Linked DNA regions of Homo sapiens: regions 1, 3 and 4 are each linked to region 2. Evidence: promoter capture Hi-C in human tissues and cell types (Jung and others, 2019). All regions are on one chromosome and are shown on one strand. The core of a region is centred on a gene start or on the middle of the fragment in contact, and the rest is flanking DNA. Distances in the headings are between cores, read along the strand shown.

Region 1 (2,700 bases), core at 155-2,654, 220 kb after region 2:
GCGGGTTCAAGTGATTCTTCTGCCTCAGCCTCCCAGGCAGCTGGGATTACAGGCACCCACCACCACGCCCCACTAATTTTTTTGTATTTTTGTAGAAATTGGGTTTCACCACATTTGCCAGGCTGGTCTCAAACTCCTGACCTCAGGTGATCTGCTGGCCTCAGCCTCCCAAACTGCTGGGATTACAGGTGCAAGCCAAGGCGCCTGGCCTTTCCTAGGAATTTTAAAACAAAATATGCAAAATATATTCATTTACGAACTCTACATTTGTCATTGCACTCCAGCCTGGGCAACAAGAACGAAACTCCGTCTCAAAAATAAATAAATAAATAAATAAAAATAAAAAATAAAATTCCTATGAAATATTGTCTTCTGAAAATTTGAGCATTTTTGCCCACTGGGTTGATGGAGACAGAAAGGGTTCTAGGCCAGAATGTTCATATTTGGAAGACTTTCAAATTATAACTGTTGTCACATGTTTGCAGTTTATTCAAGACTGCTGTTACATAGTGGAAAAATTAACTCCTTACTTCAAATGTCTAGTCTACCTAGATGTTTGGAAGTGTCCCACGTATATTAAATATAGAGGTAGTGAAATATCACTGTAAATATCTTTTTGTTAAAATTTATAGGAAACACTGCCTTTTGGAAATTGAATTGTTTAACCACCTTTGTGAGCAGTGTAGTACTGTGTATAGTTGTTCGATAGTTTAGAGGAGGTGGGAGGGAAGAAATTGCAAAAGGTAATAGGCCAGTGTGTTCATAATTGGACATTTTCAGACACTATTTTTCTGTATGTTTTGTGCATTTTGTTTTGCTCTGTATATAGCATATACAATGGGCAAATGCATCCTGATTTTGCAACATCTAATTGCTGGATGTTAAAGAGGTTGCCAGTGTGTGATAAAGTACTTAGTAAATTTAGCATATTTTGTATACTTTGTGTTGAAATTCATAGGAAACTTGTCTTCTGTGGATGACTTTTGGATAGGAGTTTGTTCAACCATCTCTAAGCATTACACATGCGTGTACTTGTCCACTGGATTGAAAGCAGAGAGAAGGAAGTGAGGAGGGAATGGTTCAAGGCCAAAATGGTCATATTTAGGAGATACCTCAGATTATAACCACGGTTACATGTGTGGAATTTTATTTAACAGTGCGTGTACATGGTGGACAAGTTAGATGAAATATCTAGTATTTCTAGATATTTGGAAGTGCTTCATGTATTTAAAAGTAGTAGTAGCATAACACTGTTTTTTGTTTTTGTTTTTGTTGAGACGGAGTCTCACTCTGTCACCCAGGCTGGAGTGCAGTGGCACGATATCGGCTCATTGCAACCTCCGCCTCCTGGGCTCAAGCAATTCTCCTGCCTCAGCCTCCTGAGTAGCTGGGATTACAGGGGTGCACCACCATGCCCAGCTACCTTTTGTGTTTTTAGTAGAGACAGGGTTTCACCATGTTGGCTAGGCTGGTCTTGAACTCCTGACCTCAGATGATCCACCCACCTAGGCCTCCCAAAGTGCTTGGATTACAGGCATGAGCCACTGCGCCCGGCAAATAATACTTTTTGTAAATAACTTTTAAAAACTGATGGGGCTGGGGCCAGGCACGGTGGCTCACGCCTGTAATCCCAGCACTTTGGGAGTCCAAGGCAGGTGGATCACGAGGTCAGGAGATCGAGACCATCCTGGCTAACATGGTGAAACCCTGTCTCTACTAAAAATACAAAAAATTAGCCAGGCGTGGTGGTGGGTGCCTGTAGTCCCAGCTACTTGGGAGGCTGAGGCAGGAGAATGGCGTGAACCTGGGAGACGGAGCTTGCAGTGAGCTGAGACTGCGCCACTGCACTCCAGCCTGGGTGACAGAGCGAGACTGTGTCTCAAAAAAAAAAACAAAAAAAAAAAAACAACTGATGGGGCACAGTGGCTCACGCCTGTAATCCCAACACTTTGGGTGGCTGAGGCTGGTGAATCATTTGAGGTCAGGAGTTCCAGAACAGCCTGGCCAACATGGCGAAACCCTGTCTCTACTGAAAACACAAAAAGTAGCTAGGCTTGGTGGTGAGTGCCTGTAATCCCTCAGCTACTCAGGAGGCTGAGGCACGAGAACCGCTTGAACCCAGGAGGCAGAGACTGCAGTGAGCTGAGATCGTGCCACTGCACTCCAACCTAGGTGACAGAGTGAGACTCTGTCTCAAAAAATAAAAAAAGAAAAAAAACTGGTGGGAAATACTCTTTGGAAGTAGAATTGTTGAACCACCTCTGTGAACAGTGTACTCTCTGTACTTGTTCATTGGGTTGACGGAGGTGGGTGAGATGAAATTTCCTGATTAGGACATTGTACTACAGCTATGCAACATGTTACCATTGAGAGAAAATGGCTGTATAATTTCCTACATGTGAATATGCAATGACCTCAAAATAAATTTTTGTTAAAAAGTACACCACTGGCCAGGTGCGGTGGCTCACGCCTGTAATCCCAGCACTTTGGGAGGCCGAGGTGGGTGGATCAGGAGGTCAGGAGATGGAGACCATCCTGGCTAACATGGTGAAACCCCGTCTCTACTAAAAATACAAAAAATTTGCCGGGTGTGGTGGCGGGAGCCTGTAGTTCCAGCTACTCGGGAGGCTGAGGCAGGAGACTGGCGTGAACCCAGGAGGCAGAGCTTGCAGTGAGCGGAGATCGCACCACTGCACTCCA
Region 2 (2,700 bases), core at 183-2,682:
TTAATTAGGGAAAGGCTAAAGGGAACAGGGGAAAGCAGAAAGATAAAACAAAAAAGCTATAAATCTGCCTATCTTCATGTGCAGAGAATTTAAACAAAAGAGAATGCAGGTAAGTTACGGGTCTAACTTTGTTTTTTTTCTTTTTTCTTTTTTTTTTTTTTTTTGAGACGGAGTCTCTCTCTGTCGCCGGCCCAGACTGGAGTGCAGTGACGTGATCTCAGTTCACTGCAACCTCCGCCTCATGGGTTCAAGCGATTCTCCTGCCTCAGCCTCTCGAGTAGCTGAGATTACAGGCATGTGACACCACGTCTGGCTAATTTTTGTATTTTTAGTAGAGAAGGGGTTTCGCCATCTTGGCCAGGCTGGTCTGGAACTCCTGTACATGTCTAACTTTCTTTATGGCCCAAGACATGGCCTTCTTGCCCAGATAACGCACTTAATTCACAGACTTCCTGCTCACCATCAAACGCCTCAATTTATCAAACACCGGGGCTGACAGAGGAATGCAAGTTAAGCTCCCTGCTGCCTTGGCACTCTGCTGCCTTGGCACTATCAATCAGCCCAAGTTCCATTCTATAAAATCACCCACAAGCCTCTGCTTCTCTCCTGCAGGCTTCCCATGGCCTCCCTTGCGATGGATTTTGCTTCTTTCGCTAATAACTTTACCTACAACTGTCTTAGTAAAAATTATTTTACCCCGGCGTTACCGGCCCAGATAGCAGTCGTTCCCCTGTGACGGAGAGGAAGTCAGCTTTATGAAATGCAGGGCAAAATCTGGAAATCTAGGGATTTACTGCCAGCCCCAGGAGTTAGGGTGAGGGGACAAGATAAGCATTAGACATCTGCCTTCCCAAACCTTTGAAGACTCAGAGGGACACCGGTCCCCTTTAGGAAGAAAACAGAGACTGAGGATCCCACAGATCACAGCTCCTCACAGGCACGAACCCCACACACGAGTGGGGATTCCCTCCATGACCCTTCCGTGACCCTCCCCCAATCCTGGGGAGATGGGGGGCTGCGGGCGAGGAGCTGCCCAGACAGGGCTCCGAGGCCGGGACCGCAGTTGCCGCGCAGGGACCGGATAGGACGCCCGGGGTCCCGGCTGCCAGCTCAGCCTCACTCTGTGGCTGAGGGGACCGAGGGTCGAGCTGCGCCAGGGGGACTCGGGTCCCAGACCCCGGAGCTGACGGCGGGGGAGGCCCACGTTCGCCGCGGCCGGTTCTGGACGGTTCCAACCAGCTCTTTCCCACTTTTGGGACGCCTGACCCTGCACACGCACCATTTCCCGGCTTCCGGGATGTTCCAGGGTCCTCCCTCTGCCTCCCGCTGCCAGTGCGGGTCCCACTGTGACAGAGGCTGCCACAGACGTTCCAGGGCGTCTCTCAGCGACTGAGGCTACACAGACGTTCCAGGGCGTCTCTCAGCGAGCGACTGAGTCTAGAGCTGAGCGCAGGGGCGTGAAGACGCCGCGGGCTCTTTGAACCTGGCACCCTACTGCCAGCCGTGCGCCTGATTGACAGTTCTCACGACCCCGCCCCATAGCTCTGATTGGATAGGGCTCCAGGTCCCGCCCCCTGGGCACTGAGTGACAGAAGAAGCGATCACACAGTGCTGAGTCGAGCGGGATGAACGAGTTCCAGGCACAGCCCTTGACAGGGCAGGCTTCCTCCCTGTGCTGTCCTGATCCCTCCCAGGGAACATTTGCATTTATGCAGAATTACCTGCCCGTACTCAGCAGGCCCTTACTGCCTTTTCCTCCTGGAGAAGGAGTCACAAGTGTTTTGCAGGGAATCCCAGACTCACAGTCCAGTGGAGCCATTCCCCTGGCCTCAGAGCAGAGGGGAGCCCAAGGCCACACAGGCCACACTGCAGCAGGAGGGTGGCCTGATGTCCACCGGGCATCAGGATTTGAGGATGAGACTCTTGGCGGCAAGGTTAAGCCTTCCTCTCTCACCTTGCCTCTCAATCTGCTCATTTTCAGCCAAGGAAATAAAAACAAGTCAAGAACGGTATTAAAATATCAAATGTGTGGAAGAACTGAAATCACACGGCAGCAATAAATGAATGAATGAATCAAAACAAAAATACAACAGGAAAAAAAAAGCAAAAACTTGAACTAGTGCAGATAAGCAGCCTGCTGCCCTCATACTTCAGCAAACGTCCCATTCAGGAGGCTAAACATATGCCCAAACTTGGCAGCCACTCTTAACTGTTGAAATGGAACCCCAGAGTGAACCAAAACCTGGTGATGAGACTGGGACACTGAAGGATTTGACTCTGGGAGCTCAACATACTTCCCTGTGCCCTCTGCAGAGTGTGGAAATGCCCCCACCGTCAAGATGTGCATTTTCACCAACAGGAAAGTTTCATGTAAAGTTAGTTTAAGGGCCCGGGGCGGTGGCTCACGCCTGCAATCCCAGCACTTTGGGAGGCCGAGGCGGGTGAATCACCTGAGGTCACCAGTTGGAGACCAGCCTGGCCAACATGGTGAAACCACATCTCTACTAAAAATACAAAAATTAGCTGGGCATGGTGGCGGGCACCTGTAATCCCAGCTACTCGGGAGGCTGAGGCAGGAGAATCACTTGAACCTGGGAGGCGGAGGTTGCAGTGAGCCGAGATCGTGCCACGGCATTCCAGCCTGGGTGACAGAGTGAGACCTGGTCTCAAAAAAAAAAAAAAAAAAAAAAAAAAGGTTAC
Region 3 (2,700 bases), core at 146-2,645, 150 kb before region 2:
TGTATCAATAGGAGAGCGCTCAAAAGAATTTCTTTTTTTTTTTTTCTTTTTTTTTTGAGATGGAGTCTCACTCTGTCGGCCAGGCTGGAGTGCAAGTGGCACAGTCTGGGCTTACTGCAACCTCTGCCTTCCAGGTTCAAGCTATTCTCCTGCCTCACCCTCCTGAGTAGCTGGGATTACAGGCACAGGTCACCATGCCTGGTTAATTTTTGTATTTTTTATAGAGACGGGGTTCCTCCATGTTGGCCAGGGTGGTCTCGATCTCCTGACCTCAGGTGGTCTGCCAGCCTCGGCCTCCCAAAGTGCTGGGATTACAGGCGTGAGCCACCACACCCAGCCCAAAAGAATTTCTTCTAGGACGTGTGCTTGCTTCAGGTGTATTGATTGCTATTCAAAGCAAGAAGCTTCTCTGGATTGTATACTATGAAGAAGCAAGGTTATTTCTGGCCTTGGTTATTATGATAGTTCTTACCCAGAAGTAAAAAAGATGGAGTGGCGCTAAGTTTATTACCTAAACACTGAAATATTTCTTATGATGAATTAGACATGGCTTCCCATAAGATACCTCAGTTGAAATATATAAATTCTAACTATTGATAATTTTTTTTTTTTGAGACAGAGTCTGGCTCTGTTGCCCGGGCTGGAGTGCAGTGGCGCAGTCTCGGCTCACTGCAAGCTCCACCTCCCGGGTTCACACCATTCTCCTGCCTCAGCCTCCCGAGTAGCTGGGACTACAGGTGCCCGCCACCACACCCGGCTAATTTTTTTGTAATTTTAGTAGAGACGGGGTTTCACCATGTTAGCCAGGATGGTCTTGATCTCCTGACCTCGTGATCTGCCTGCCTCGGTCTCCCAAAGTGCTGGGATTACAGGCGTGAGCCACCGCCCCCGGCCAACTACTGATAATTTTTAAAAGTCTCCCTTATTAGTCAAATTAGGCTAATGCCTCTAGGAAAGTTGTCAGAATATAAACCTAGCAAGGGACAGAGACATGATCACTATTCTAATCAAGCCTCTCTTGCTCAGATAATATGCTCTTGATGCTAATTTTTCAATATGCCTCATATGCCAGAACTGTAGACTCAGAACATCCAGAATTAAGCACAAATGATGCAGGCACTGAAGGCTCTGATATGGGAACACAAAGTGAATAAATTCTTGAAATCCTGGTGCTTATATTTTTGTGAGAAAGGAGAGGGGTTGAAAAAATGGTAAGACTGGTTTATAAGAAGGAAATAAGCACTTTGAAGGAAAGTAAATGATGGTGTGAGATAATACGGAAGCTGAGGGTGTGTGTATATGTTCTCTGTGGAGGGTGGCAACATCAGTGAGTGAAGAAATGTCACCATCGGTCATTTATATTTCCACCTCTTATACATCTTCAGCACCATTTCAGGAACTGCTTAAGTGTGGATGTAGATAGTGCATAGCAATATAGACAGTCCTGCCTTTTTGAGGTTAACAATAATGATTCCCCGTAAAGATATAGGTATGGCTTATTGTCATTTTTGCATTGGTTAAAAATTTTAATGCATGTAATATGTGATGCTGACTTTGGACATGGGTATCTGGAACCTGGAGGAAGGCACACCACTGCATACGGTGTGTGCTAGAACCACGTTGGATCCCTGTTGAAACATCTTAAGTGTTCTGCCCCTTAAGCCACAGGGGCGGAGCCTGAAGTTATATCCAGTTAGGGGTGCCAGGATGGCATCCTACTTATTGTCCAATCAGGCGCGCCTCAGAGCCCTGTCTGCCCCCAACCTCACCCCACCCTGTACGATCTTGTGGTGAATTTTCTTTTCTTGAGCTGGCTGCATTACCTTTCTTCTGGCTCCTGGCTCCACTGCCCTGGCTCTGTGCTCTGTGCTGGCCGTGGTAGCCGGAGGGAGGACCCAGGAGACCCCGAAGATGGGAAATGGCGAGTGTGGGAAATGGCAAGTGTGCAGGGGCCTGGGGTCCGACATGGCTGGAGGGGCCCAGGCCTCCTCGCCATCAGCATCCGATTCTGTTTCATCTGAGTTGCTCAAATGTGTGGGAAGCAGGGTATCAAATCCACCCCCGGCCTAACTCTCCTTGATCTGGCAGCAAACTGCTAAATTGTAGGTATAATTTCTGCAGTCCCCAACACCAGCTTCTGTTCTCGGATGCACAGTGTTATCAACTATTTGGTTTTTTTGTTTTGTTTTGTTTTTGCATTTGTTTTTGTTTTTTTTTTTTTGGTGGAGTCTCATTCTGTCGCCGAGGCTGGAATGCAGTGGCGCAATCTCCACTCACTGCAATGTCCGCCTCCTGGATTCAAGCGATTTTCCTGCCTCAGCCTCCTGAGTAGGTGGGATTACAGGCACCTGCCACCACGCCCAGCTAATTTTTTTTGGGGGGGGACAGAGCCTCACTGAGTCGCCCAGGCTGGAGGGCAGTGGTGTGATCTTGGCTCACTGCAAGCTCCGCCTCCCGGGTTCACACCATTCTCCTGCTTCAGCCTCCCGAGTAGCTGGGACTACAGGCACCCACCACTACGCCCGGCTAATTTCTTTGTATTTTTAGTAGAGACAGGGTTTCACCATATTAGCCAGGATGGTTTCGATCTCCTGACCTCGCAATCCGCCTGTCTCTGCCTCCCAAAGTACTGGGATTACAGGTGTGAGCCACCGCGCCCGGCCATTTTTTTGTGTTTTTTAGTAGAGATGGGGTCTCACC
Region 4 (2,700 bases), core at 137-2,636, 210 kb before region 2:
CTACTCTACTCTACTGTATTTATGTTATGTTATGTTGTTATGTTATGTTATGTTATGTTATGTTATGTTATGTTATGTTATGTTATGTTATTTTAGAGACAAGGTCTTGCTCTGTTGCCCAGGCTGGAGTGCAGTGTTGCAGTCTCAGCTCACTGCAACCTCTGCCTCCCAGGTTCAAGTGATTCTCCTGCTTCAGCCTCCCGAGTAGCTGGGATTACAGGTGGCCACCACCCCAGCCGGCTAATTTTTGTACTTTTAGTAGAGACAGGGTTTCACTATGTTGGCCAGGCTGGTCTAGAACTCCTGACCTCAAGTGATCCGCCCGCCTTGGCCTCCCAAAGTGCTGGGATTATAGGCATAAGCCGCCGTGCCTGGCCCCTGAAATACTTTTTAATATAGGGTGTAAGCCAGGCGCGGTGGCTCACATCTGTAATACAAATACAAATACAAAAATTAACCAGGTGTGGTAGTGCGTGCCTGTAATCCCAGCTACTCGGGAGGCTGAGGCAGGAGAATTGCTTGAACCCAGCAGGTGAAGGTTGCAGTGAGCTGAGATCGCACCACTGCACTCAAGCCTGGCGACAGAGCGAGACTCTGTCTCAAAAAAAAAAAAAGTGTGTAACAGTTGGTGAAAAGGTTCAAAAAAAAAAAGAAAAGAAAAGAAAGGTGACACTTAAATTTACATGACTTTTTTTTTTTTTTTTTTGAGACAGCGTCTTGCTCTGTCACCCAGGCTGGAGTGCAGTGGCACAATCTTGGCTCAATGCAAGCTCTGCCTCCCAGGTTCATGCCATTCTCCTGCCTCAGCCTCCTGAGTAGCTGGGACTACGGGCGCCCGCCACCACGCCCGGCTAATTTTTTGTATTTTTAGTAGAGACAGGGTTTCACCATGTTAGCCAGGATGGTCTCGATCTCCTGACCTCGTGATCTGTCTACCTTGGCCTCCCAAAGTGCTGGGATAACAGGCGTGAGCCACCGCACCCAGCCTACATGACTTAACTTTTTACCTTGTTAAACAGAGAGCAATCAACCCTGTGAACGTTATGTTCCAGATTCTGACAAGTGTGTTGAAAAAATTCTACACACTAAATGAAATAGGAGTAATGGGTGAGAGAGTGTGACCTTGAGTTTCAAGTTGGGGTAAGGGGGGCGGAAAAGAAGACAGTGTCTTGAGGTGGTGACATCTGTAGTGAGATCTGAAATGACGTGTTAGTATATGAAGTCAGGAAAGAGGATTCTGGGAAGATGGCAGAATAGGAAGTATCAAGCAGAAACTACAGGAAGCCATTTTTGTGAACTGAGTTCCTCTGCTGGGCCCTCAGAAACCAGACCTACCCCAGCGATTAGGAAATTACACCTAGGCAATCGTCATTGCCCCACACGCTACAAAGAACGTTCAGTAGACAATGGCTTGAGAAATGCGCCCAGTCCAATCTTTGGGTAAGCCAGGTGCAGAGATGTACAAAAAGACTGTCCTTGGCAAAGTTCTATGGTCACATGATGTTTGAGGCAGTTCTGCATATCATATGAGGGCCTTATTGGAGTTCTTGTGTATCTCTGCCAAGAGAGTACTGCACAGCAGAGGTCATTATTGCAACTTCCGTGCCATTTATTTATTTTGAGACAGAGTCTTGCTCTTTTGCCAGGCTGAAGTGCAGTGGCACGATCTCAGCTCACTGCAGTCTCTGCCTCCCGGGTTCAAGGGATTCCTCTGCCTCAGCCTCCTGAGTAGCTGGGACTATAGGAGCCCGCCACCACGCCCGGCTAATTTTTTGTATTTTAGTAGAGACAGGTTTCACCATGTTGGCCAGAATGGTCTCAATCTCCTGACTTCATGATCCGCCCGCCTCGGCCTCCCAAAGTGCCGGGATTACAGGCATGAGCCACTGCACCCAGCCACTTCTGTGCCATTTAATTGTTCACCAGTTGCCACAGGTCTATCTGTGTACACCTGAGTTGCTTGAGTGGTTCTAAACAAATGAATTTAACTTTCATTGTGGTGTTGAATTTTTGTATATACCTTTTATGAATTATTTTGACCGTGGGCTGACCAATATCATGAGTAAAAGATTTAAAAGGTCTAGAGGAGCCAGGCATGTTGGCTCATGCCTATAATCCCAGCACTTTGGGAGGCCGAGGCAGATGGATCGCTTGAGGCCAGGAGTTTAGAGACCAGTCTGGCCAACATGGTGAAACTCCAATTCTACAAAAAACACAAAAATTAACTGGGCATGGTGGTGTTCGCCTGTAGTGCCAGCTACTTGGGAGGTTGTGACGAGACTTGCTTGAACCTGGGAAGCAGAGGTTGCAGTGAGCTGAGATCGTGCCACTGCAATTCAGCCTAGGCAACAGAGCGACACTCTGTCTCAAAAAAAAAAAAAAAAAAGCCATAGGTAGGAAGCAAAATGTAAATAATGAGAAAAATATATATCTTAAGTTCACATTTGAAATATGTAAGAAAATTTGGTGATGCTGCAAATAAACTGAGGATTGTAATTATATAAATTACAAGTTTTTCCTGAGAAAAAACACATTTTCAACCTAAGTACATTGATCTTAAAGGATTTTTCCTTTGCTTTTTGACCTTGCTTTGTGAAAAAGTGCAAAAATAAGACATGAATAGTCAAAATAAGAATTTTTGGGCCAGGCGTGGTGGCTCACACTTATAATCCCAGCACTTTGGGAGGCCGAGGTGGGCGG

The links. Contacts are between HindIII fragments. The study calls those that stand out against the background at their distance.
Region 1: a fragment that was not itself captured here is called in contact with the fragment with the promoter of ZNF563 in region 2 in 1 of the 25 tissues and cell types used here (H1 embryonic stem cells).
Region 3: a contact is called between a fragment that was not itself captured here and the fragment with the promoter of ZNF563 in region 2, in 6 of the 25 tissues and cell types used here (dorsolateral prefrontal cortex, heart left ventricle, heart right ventricle and 3 more).
Region 4: a contact is called between a fragment that was not itself captured here and the fragment with the promoter of ZNF563 in region 2, in 6 of the 25 tissues and cell types used here (H1 embryonic stem cells, aorta, dorsolateral prefrontal cortex and 3 more).

The regions. Positions count from the first base shown.
Region 1 is chr19:12,556,732-12,559,431 of GRCh38, forward strand. No RefSeq gene overlaps it. Among named protein-coding and RNA genes, the nearest start is that of LINC02926, 6.4 kb to the left of the region's middle. The HindIII fragment of the contact is 3,766 bases long and covers 1-2,700 here.
Region 2 is chr19:12,332,201-12,334,900 of GRCh38, forward strand. It overlaps ZNF563 (zinc finger protein 563), which reads right to left and starts at 1,433. Exons shown (of 4, transcript NM_145276.3): 1 at 1,280-1,433. The coding sequence starts at 1,282. RefSeq lists enhancers at 787-896, 1,127-1,386, 1,489-2,354 and a silencer at 1,527-1,666. The HindIII fragment of the contact is 22,494 bases long and covers 1-2,700 here.
Region 3 is chr19:12,179,272-12,181,971 of GRCh38, forward strand. The region is part of intron 1 of ZNF136 (zinc finger protein 136); the gene reads left to right. Among named protein-coding and RNA genes, the nearest start is that of ZNF136, 18 kb to the left of the region's middle. The HindIII fragment of the contact is 3,876 bases long and covers 1-2,700 here.
Region 4 is chr19:12,126,978-12,129,677 of GRCh38, forward strand. No RefSeq gene overlaps it. Among named protein-coding and RNA genes, the nearest start is that of ZNF20, 12 kb to the right of the region's middle. The HindIII fragment of the contact is 9,523 bases long and covers 1-2,700 here.